3 separate regions of the Homo sapiens genome follow, and regions 1 and 3 are each linked to region 2. The links are contacts of gene promoters, found by promoter capture Hi-C in blood cells and fetal thymus (Javierre and others, 2016). All regions are on one chromosome and are shown on one strand. Each heading gives the region's core, a stretch centred on a gene start or on the middle of the fragment in contact. The rest is flanking DNA. Distances are from core to core; before and after follow the strand shown. Region 1 holds the start of DCAF15 (DDB1 and CUL4 associated factor 15). Region 2 holds the start of PRKACA (protein kinase cAMP-activated catalytic subunit alpha). Region 3 holds the start of CC2D1A (coiled-coil and C2 domain containing 1A).

Evidence for each region. The method cuts DNA at HindIII sites, captures the fragments that hold promoters and counts their contacts. A CHiCAGO score of 5 or more calls a contact.
Region 1: the fragment with the promoter of DCAF15 here is called in contact with the fragment with the promoter of PRKACA in region 2 in 6 of 17 cell types (activated CD4 T cells, total CD8 T cells, naive CD8 T cells and 3 more); the score reaches 6.7 in activated CD4 T cells.
Region 3: a contact is called between the fragment with the promoter of CC2D1A here and the fragment with the promoter of PRKACA in region 2, in 12 of 17 cell types (naive CD4 T cells, activated CD4 T cells, total CD8 T cells and 9 more). The highest score is 9.8, in naive CD4 T cells.

Annotation. Positions count from the first base shown.
Region 1 is chr19:13,951,153-13,954,046 of GRCh38, reverse strand. It overlaps DCAF15 (DDB1 and CUL4 associated factor 15), which reads right to left and starts at 1,538. Exons shown (of 13, transcript NM_138353.4): 1 at 1,403-1,538. The coding sequence starts at 1,534. It also overlaps a transcript of PODNL1 not described here. RefSeq lists a silencer at 1,316-1,455 and an enhancer at 2,116-2,165. The HindIII fragment of the contact is 10,644 bases long and covers 1-2,058 here.
Region 2 is chr19:14,116,389-14,119,088 of GRCh38, reverse strand. It overlaps PRKACA (protein kinase cAMP-activated catalytic subunit alpha), which reads left to right and starts at 1,327. Exons shown (of 10, transcript NM_002730.4): 1 at 1,327-1,587. The coding sequence starts at 1,542. It overlaps LOC124904642 (a long non-coding RNA gene), which reads right to left and starts at 875. Exons shown (of 2, transcript XR_007067144.1): 1 at 1-875. RefSeq lists silencers at 707-1,266, 1,677-1,746. The HindIII fragment of the contact is 7,542 bases long and covers 1-2,700 here.
Region 3 is chr19:13,904,822-13,907,521 of GRCh38, reverse strand. CC2D1A (coiled-coil and C2 domain containing 1A) reads right to left here and starts at 1,321. Exons shown (of 29, transcript NM_017721.5): 1 at 1,021-1,321. The coding sequence starts at 1,080. It overlaps BRME1 (break repair meiotic recombinase recruitment factor 1), which reads left to right and starts at 1,405. Exons shown (of 9, transcript NM_001345843.2): 1 at 1,405-1,807; 2 at 2,609-2,660. The coding sequence starts at 2,630. RefSeq lists a silencer at 947-1,006. The HindIII fragment of the contact is 3,878 bases long and covers 601-2,700 here.

The DNA of each region.
Region 1 (2,894 bases), core at 289-2,788, 170 kb after region 2:
GAAAGTTCCCCAATCACCCTGTCCCACGCTGGGCCACCTGCTTCCCTCCCTGAAGGCTGTCCCTAAGCTGTGGGTATTTATCCTACTAAGGAGGCTGGGACAGAGTCCTGACCTGCACCCATCTGTTCCCAACCCACCAGCCTTCAAACAAGGGGGCTCCTCCTCCCCGGGGCAGCTCTGGCCTCTGCTGGGGGCCAGTCGAGGCAGATAGAAGGGTGAGCCTAACCAATGACCCAACGCCCCCTTCCCAATTAACTACCGCCTTCCAACGGAATCCAAGGGAATCCCTCATCCCCAAAACTTCACCGCGGAAGGATCTGCGGGGACTGACAGGCAGAAGCCAGGCACAGGGATATCCGAACAGCCTCAGTCTTGCTACCCAACTCTGCCTTCAAGACATTCCAATCTGATGGGAAGAGTCCTGTCTGGGAAGCTCCCTGTCTGATGGGAGACAGCCCTGTCCACATGGAGGTCTCAGTCTGACGGAGGAAACAGCCTGGCCAGCCAGGCCCAGGCCGACAGGGGAGACACAGTCCCTGCCCAAGGAGCTTCCAAGCTAAGGGCGGAACCACAGCCAAGCCCAGGGAGCTCCCAGGCTAAGGGCGGAGACTGTCCCAGCCCAGGGAGCTCCCAGTCAAAAGGGGGAGACACAGCACTGCCCTTACAAAGCTACCAGCCTCACGGAGAAGGCGCAGTCCCTGTCCACAGAGACACAGCCTTGCCCCAGTTACTGCCCACCTGCAAGAGATCCACATTTCTGCCCTCCAGAGCTCCCAAACTGATGGGGGAGAGAGACATCATCCCCCAGCTCTGGGAGTTTCCAGTCTGATGGAGGAGACAGAGCCTGCTTCGGTAACTCTCACTCTGCGGGGGAAGACTCAGCCCTATCCAGGGAGCTCCCACACTTTCAATGGGGAGGCCCACCCAGGTACTGGAACTCCCAGCTCATGTGTGGTCGGGGCTTGGGCAGGGAGAGGAACATCAGGCGGAGGAAGCCCAAAGCCAGCGGCAGGGGCTCTGCAAAGGGGGCGGGAAGGTTCCATTATGGAGCAACCATGGGAGCAGAGCTTTGAAAAGCCTGGATCGCCCCCTTCCTCCTGATTCTCCCTGCGGCCTCTGGGGTCGCCTCCCTCCGAGCCCCCTCCCTGGGGCCCCGCCCCCAACCCCCTCCATCCCAGCCCCTTTGCCGGTCACCCGACACAACCACCTGCATCCAGGCCCCCAACTGAGCCCCCTCCATCCAAGCCATCTCCCCCGGGCCCCGCCCAGGCCCTGCATCCGAGCCCCCTCCCCTGGGGCCCCGCCCCCAACCCCTCACCCCGCGAACGCCCTCCTCCCTCCGCCTCCCTCGTCCCTACTCCCCACCCTCCGGCGCGCTCCCCACTCCGGCTCCAGGCCTCACCTTGACCCGCTCCAGCTGCTTGAGGACGTGCTCCCGCCGCCGCCCTGCTGCCCGCTTCCCTCCGGCTCCCCCGGGGCCGCCGCCGCCGCTCCCAGCCCCGCTGTTCCGCTCCGATTTCGAGCTGGGCGCCATTTTCACCCCCTCCCTCCACTTCCGGAGCAACCGGCCCCTTCGCCCCACCCCTGCCGCCTCCTCATTGGTCCTTTTTCGGGACAGCGGCCCGCCGGTTGGGCGAAAGCCCGCACTCGCGCTATGCCTGTCCATCAAAGCCATCTCGACTCTTGATTGGTAGCGACAGTAACAGCCCCCGCGGCCCGTTGCCGTATTCCCGCCCCGCCTTAAGGACGTACCACTCGGAGGTCCCGTTTGTTCGCCCTGCCCAGATAACTTTGATCTGATAGGTGAATATCTCTGTCTGTCTCAACGGCGTCACGCCCCCTGTGGCTGGCGGGTTTCCATGGAGACCACAGGCGGTCCAGGCCCTTGGGCGGGGCGACGGGAGCCTGTGGTCCACCAAGGCTCGAGAATCCTCAGCCCCGGGCTGCCCGCGCCCGGTCCAGGTGGGCAAAGGCCTGACGAGCATACTTGGGCGGCAGAGCCAGGCCGAGGAAAGAGATTTACAAAAAAGGAAAAAACGATGGGATTCGATGAAAGCTTGTTTCCGATGGGCGGGTTGGTGGGATGATGGTGGTGATAATGATAGCATCAATCATGGATCGCTCCACATGTGACAGACACGGTTCTGAGCTTAAACAGTTCGATGTGGCAGGGCCCTGTTGTGCCAATTATGCAGATCATAGCAATAAAAATAATTGTTGAAGGTCCGCTCCGTGCATCATATTCGTATACATTACCTCATTTATTTTATTTTTTTAGACAGAGTCTCACTTTGTCACCCAGGCTGGAGTGCAGTGGCGTGATCACGGTTCACTGCAGCCTCGACCCCGGGCTCAGATGATCCTCTCACCTCAGCCTCTCATGTAGCTAGGACTACAGGCGTGCGCCACCACGCCTGCCTAATTTTTTGTATTTTTAGTAGAGACGAGGTTTCACTATGTTGGCCAGGCTGGTTGCGAACTCCTGACCTCAGGTGATCCGCCCGCCTAGGCCTCCCAAAGTGCTGGAATTACGGGCATAAGCCACCGCGCCCGGCCTAATTTTTTGTATTTTTTGTAGGGACGGAGTTTCACCAAGTTGTCCAGGCTGGTCTCCAACACCTGGGCTCAAGTGATCCTCCCACCTCTGCTTCCCAAAGTGTTGGGAGGACAGGTGTGAGCCCCCACCCCTGGCCAGCCCATTTAATCCTCTGAACAATCTAGAAGATAGTTTTTTTTTATTGTCTTCATTAAAAAAATTTTTTTTGTAGAGATGGGGTCTCACTATGTTGCCCAGGCTGCTCGAAAACTCCTGACCTCAAGGGATCATCCCGTCTTGGCCTCCCAAAGTGCTGGGATTACAGGCATAAACCACTGTGCCCAGCTGATTTCAAGGG
Region 2 (2,700 bases), core at 78-2,577:
GGGGGCAGACAGCAGCTGGAGAAGGTGGAGGCTATTCAAGTCGAAGCAGCAGATCGGCTTGTAGTTAAGCCCAGCTAGCCCTTCCGAGTCGGGGTGACCTGGCTTCTCCCCTCCCCTGACCCTCTCTTAAGTGCTTCTCAATCAGGAGCAGTTCGGCCCCGCAAGAGCACATTCACCAATGTCAGGAGACAGCGGTTGCCACAGCCAGCAGGAAGATAGAGGAGGGGCTACTGGCATCCAGTGGGTAGAGGCGGGGGATGTTGCTCAACACCCAGTGGTGCACAAGACACCCCCCAGCAGAAAATGATCCAGCCTCACCGTCAGTAGTGTCGCAGTTGGGAAACCCCGACTGTCCTCTGCTAAGTGTGTACTGAAAGAGGATCCTGAAGGAAGGGGCAGGTTCCCTTCGCATTGCCCAGACAGGAAATACAGACGGGGAACAGGAGCAGGGAATCTGCCTGGCTGTACCCCAGATTCCTCATCTGTGCAATGGGAGTGATGATGGTAGCACCTACGCGATGGGAGTGTGGTGCGAAGGAGCGTTAAGTGGGTGCCAGCTCTTACTACTGGCAGGAGCCCAGGGCTAGGGCCCAGCAAAGGGGTGGACACTGAGCGCCCCTTCCCAGCCACCCCTTGCGCCGGGCCCGGCATCCTCCTGAGTGCGGCTGGGAAAACCCAGGAGGCCCCGCGGCCTGGCCCCCAAGCAGGCCTGGCCTCGGCCGCCCAGCGCCAGGCCTTATGAATGACGCCGGCGGCGGCCGGGCGACCTCTGACCCGCGCGCCGGCCGCGCCCCTCCCCCGCTGGCAGGTGGACAGCGGCTGCGCCGGGCAGGCCGCGGCGCCAACTCCGGCTGGCCGACAGCCGCTGCCGCACTGAGCGGGGGCGGGGGACTGCGGCGCGCGCGGGGCCGGCCGGGCGCCCGCCGGGGCCGCCTCCTGAGCCTCGGAGCGCTGCGCGGCCGCCAGCCAGCCTCCGCCGCCCCGCCCCGCCGGCCCGGGCCCGCAGACTGCGTCTCCGCCCCGCCCTCTCACCCCCGGATTGACACTGAGCGTTCTGCTGGGGGGCTTGGCGGACCCGGCACCTCCGCCAATCGGCGGCCTCGCAGGGCGGACCCCGGGCCCAGTCCAGCGTCTCGGCCAATCGGACGCGTCTGCCCGCCCAGCTGCGGCCTCGCGAGCGAGTGAATGGCCGAGAGTCCGCGGTGCGTGTCCCGAGGCTGAGAGCCTATAGTGGCGCGGGAAGGTCGCGGGAGGGCCAATGGGAGGCGGCGCTGAGCCGTCAGTCAGGGCGGCCTAGGCCAATGAGCGGCGGGCTGCGGGGGCGTCACAGACAGCGGCAGAGATCTTGGGCTGAGGTTCCCGGGCGGGCGGGCGCGGAGAGACGCGGGAAGCAGGGGCTGGGCGGGGGTCGCGGCGCCGCAGCTAGCGCAGCCAGCCCGAGGGCCGCCGCCGCCGCCGCCCAGCGCGCTCCGGGGCCGCCGGCCGCAGCCAGCACCCGCCGCGCCGCAGCTCCGGGACCGGCCCCGGCCGCCGCCGCCGCGATGGGCAACGCCGCCGCCGCCAAGAAGGGCAGCGAGCAGGAGAGCGGTGAGTGCCCGGGCTGTGACCCCGATCTTGGCCCTGCGCTGCCAGCCCTGGCCTTGTCCATCATCGCCTGGCCCCTCCCCCTACGGGGCCCCTCATCCTCTCTGCCTACCCCCCAGCGCCCCTTGCCCCGGCCTGTCCAAGGCTGGGGCCCGCGGGCCCGCAGAGTACCCCCTGTAGGGGTCCCCTTCCCCTAGGGCCGCCCCATGCTGCAAAGACCGTGCTCCCCCCCAGCTGTCACTGCCAACCATGGCACGTATGACCGCTGGGGCCCCACATGGGCCCCTGTCACCAGCCTACCCCCTCCTTTCCTGGCCCCTCTTCCCAGATTCTAATCCCCCCACTTCCTCACTCACCTCTCTCACCTATGGGATCCTCTGCCTGACCCCGACCCAGGTTTCTACCAGTTTGGGAATGCGATGAGGTCTGTCTGCCTCCACCGCGCAGGGACCTTGGCCACTTGCTGACCACACCCCTCCCCCCTCCAGCCCCCGCCATCTTTCTCCTGCCCTTTCCCTCTTCACCTTAGCACAGCCCCCCCTTCCAAACCCATCCTGCCCCCTGAACATTTCCCAGAGCCACCTCCAGCATTATTTTTTTCTTCTGTGTCACTTGGCATGGGGGACAGGATCTTTCTGGGTCCCTCTGCCTCTCTCATCCTGTCACTCTGTCATTCTGCTGCTCTGCTTGTGCTCCGTCCTCCAAGCAAGCGTCTGTCCCTGGCTGGGGTAGCAGACTGTTTATGAACGTAGAGAATTGCTTCAGTGCTTCCAAAGCCAAGTTTGAGCTGGTCTTGTTGGGATTCATTGCATCCTCTTTCCTGCGTTGGGGTAAGGGGGTGGTGGCAGAGCCCCCTCTCATTTCCTGTCTTGCAGTGAGCTCTAGGCTCCATGGAGGGCCCCTCAATAAATGGTCGTTTCACAACTGAGGCTCCGTCATTCACCCAGTCCCTGGGGCTTCTTCCACCACTCCTGGCTTGGGATGAAAAGTGTCTGGGTTTAGCGAGGTTCATTCGGTTCTAACTGAGATGGTCAGAAAGAGCACTGGGGAGGAGGAGGCAGTCAAAGAGAGTAATGGGTGACGTCTAGTGATTTGCTTTGACGTCTAGTGATTCTG
Region 3 (2,700 bases), core at 72-2,571, 210 kb after region 2:
TTTGTATTTTTAGTAGAGATGGGGTTTCGCCATGGCCTCCCAAAGTGCTGGGATTACAGGTGTGAGACACCACCCCGGACTTCCATTTTTAATTTTTTATCTTTATTTTAGAGAAAGAGTCTTGTTCTGTCACCCAGGCTGGAGCAGAAGTAGCGCAATCATAGCTCACTGCGGTCTTGAACTCCTGGGCTCAAGCAATCCTCCCTTCTTAGCCTCCCAAGTAGTAGTACTACAGGCACATGCCACCATGCCCAGTTAGTCTTTTTTTGTCGAGACGGGGGTCTTGCTTTTGCCCAGGCTGGTCTCAAACTCTGGCCTCAAATGACTCTCCCACCTCTGCCTCCGCCTCCATCTCCTGAAGTGCTGGGATTATAGAGATCTCCATTTTACAGATGAGAAAGCTGAGGCTCAGAGCTGTAAAGTCAAGTGTCCGATGTACAGAGGCCAGGAGGGAACTTCAGGTCAGCCAGACTCTAATATCTGAACACCAAGCTATGTCCTGGGCTCCTTCCATCAAAACTGAGAAAAATCAAACTATCTGGTGCCTGGGGCAAAGAAGTCGGGAGAGTGAGAAGGGGTCCAGCCACAGTGCCATAAGCTTATGGCTGCAGCCCTGGATTTGTGCTTAGCCCTGGCCAAGCTGTTAATCCCTATGACCTTGGGCAGATGTCTTCACGTCTCTGAGTCTCAAAGTCCTCATCTGTACAATGGAATAAAAAGAGTCTGACATGGCCCGACTGATGCAAGGGTTTGATGTGTCAAGTCCGAGGACTGCCCCTCCTCGACTGGAGCAGCTGTGGCAACAGGTGGCCCCGAACCCGGGGCAGGGCCCCAGGAGCTGGGGAGCCAAGGCCAGTAGGCCACACTTGGGTGGTGTTGGAGCCTCACCTGGGGGGAGGCGGGGACCGGGGCTTACCTGTGGGGCGGAGATCGGGCTTCCCTGGGGGGTGGGGCCCTTCCCTGAGCGAGTGACGGGGGTGGGGAGGGATCCCCAGGTCGGGCCGTGGGGCGCAAACTCACCTGGCGGGCGGCCGCGGCGCCTCTGCCCGGGGGTCCCGGGGGTCCTTTCCTCTTGTGCATCTTCAAGGCTGGATGCCCGGACCACCTGCCCCCAAGCCCGGCCTTGCCCTGCCTCCTTCCCCGGGCTCTGTCGCCGCGCACTCGCCCTTCCTGAGTCCTGCACTCCTCGTCGGCGCCCCGCGGCCGTCGATCCCGAGCCCTCGCTTCCCTGCTTGGCCGTCCCACTTCCGCCTCGGGCCTCGGGCGCCGCCGCACCGGAGCGCGGCCACTGGGCTCGCCGGGTCTGCCGAGCCGAAACTACAACTCCCGGCAGGTAGTGCGTGGGCGCGCAGGCGCCTGGCTGGGGCGGTGCTGACTGTCGCGGGCTGCGAGGGCGGTGTTTGCGTCGCTCATGCGCGGGGCGGGACCTCGCGGGGCGCGGGAAAGAGGCAGAGCGCGCGCAGGTGTGAGGGGCGGCGACATCTGTGGGGTTCAGAGCGTCTGTCAGTCACCGACGGGCTCCGGCTTCACGTGGGCTCTCGGCCTGTGGAGTCCTCACTTCTCGGTGGTCGGCGTAGTGTCAGTGTGGGGCTTGTCACCGGGAGCGGGGTCTACAGCGCCCACCCTCAGGCCTTTCCATCTTTCACCTCCGGACTCGAGGCCTCCAGCGTTCTGTGAGGGCCAATTTGGCCATTTATTTTTTCCAAAAAGAGTAACGCGGATAATTCAAGCGACTTATTCCCAACTGATCCAGGCAGAGCTCGTTTCTGATAAGGACAGAGGGTCCTCAACGACTTCTGTGGCCCAGGTCCGTTCTGGTTTGCCTCGCCCCCAAGGCTGGGAGAAACCGGCCTATGGCAGCTCTTTCCCCTCCAAGGACCCAGCTGTCCCCTTTAAAGTGGCACGATCTTGGCTCATTGCAACCTCTGCCTCCTGGCCTTGTACCACAGCCTCCTGAGTAGCTGGGATTACGGGTGTGTGCCACCGCACCTGACTAATTTTTTTTTTTTTTTTTGAGACGGAGTCTCGCTCTGTCGCCCAGGCTGGAGTGCAGTAGAGCGATCTCGGCTCACTGCAACCTCTGCCTCATGGGTTCAAGGAATTCTACTGTCTCAGCCTCCCAAGTAGCTGGGATTACAGGTGTGCGTCACGATGCCCAGGCTAATTTTTGTGTTTTTAATAGAGAGGGGGTTTCACCATATTGGCCAGGCTGGTCTCCAGAGGCCCCTGGAGAGTCCTCAAGTGTCCTTGGAAGGGCCCCCAGATACCCCAGTCTGGAGGGAGGGGCTTCACACAGGCTGTTTCATCCTAGGGACCAGAGTCTGGGTCCCCGGGGCTATCTATAAGGACCCCCCAGGGCCCATTTGTCTTTCAGGTCCTGGGCATAAGATCTTCAGTTTGGAGGAGGTTTGAATTCCTACCTGGCCATGGCCCAAAGTGGCTGTGACTCTGTGTCCCATCCTGTGTCCCAGTGGGAGCCATCTGACCCCTGGGGCAGCCAAATGGGCTGAGGTGGAGGTAGGGGTAACCTCTGCTCTCAGCCAAAGCCACTGGATATAAACAGAGACAGAGACTGCTTATAATGATGAGAGATTTTGCTTGTTTTCAGATTTCTCAAGGGGAAGATAAAATGACTAAGAGGAAGAAGCTGCGGACCTCAGGTACGTTCATTCAAATGGACACTTGTTGATTTCTGCTTCT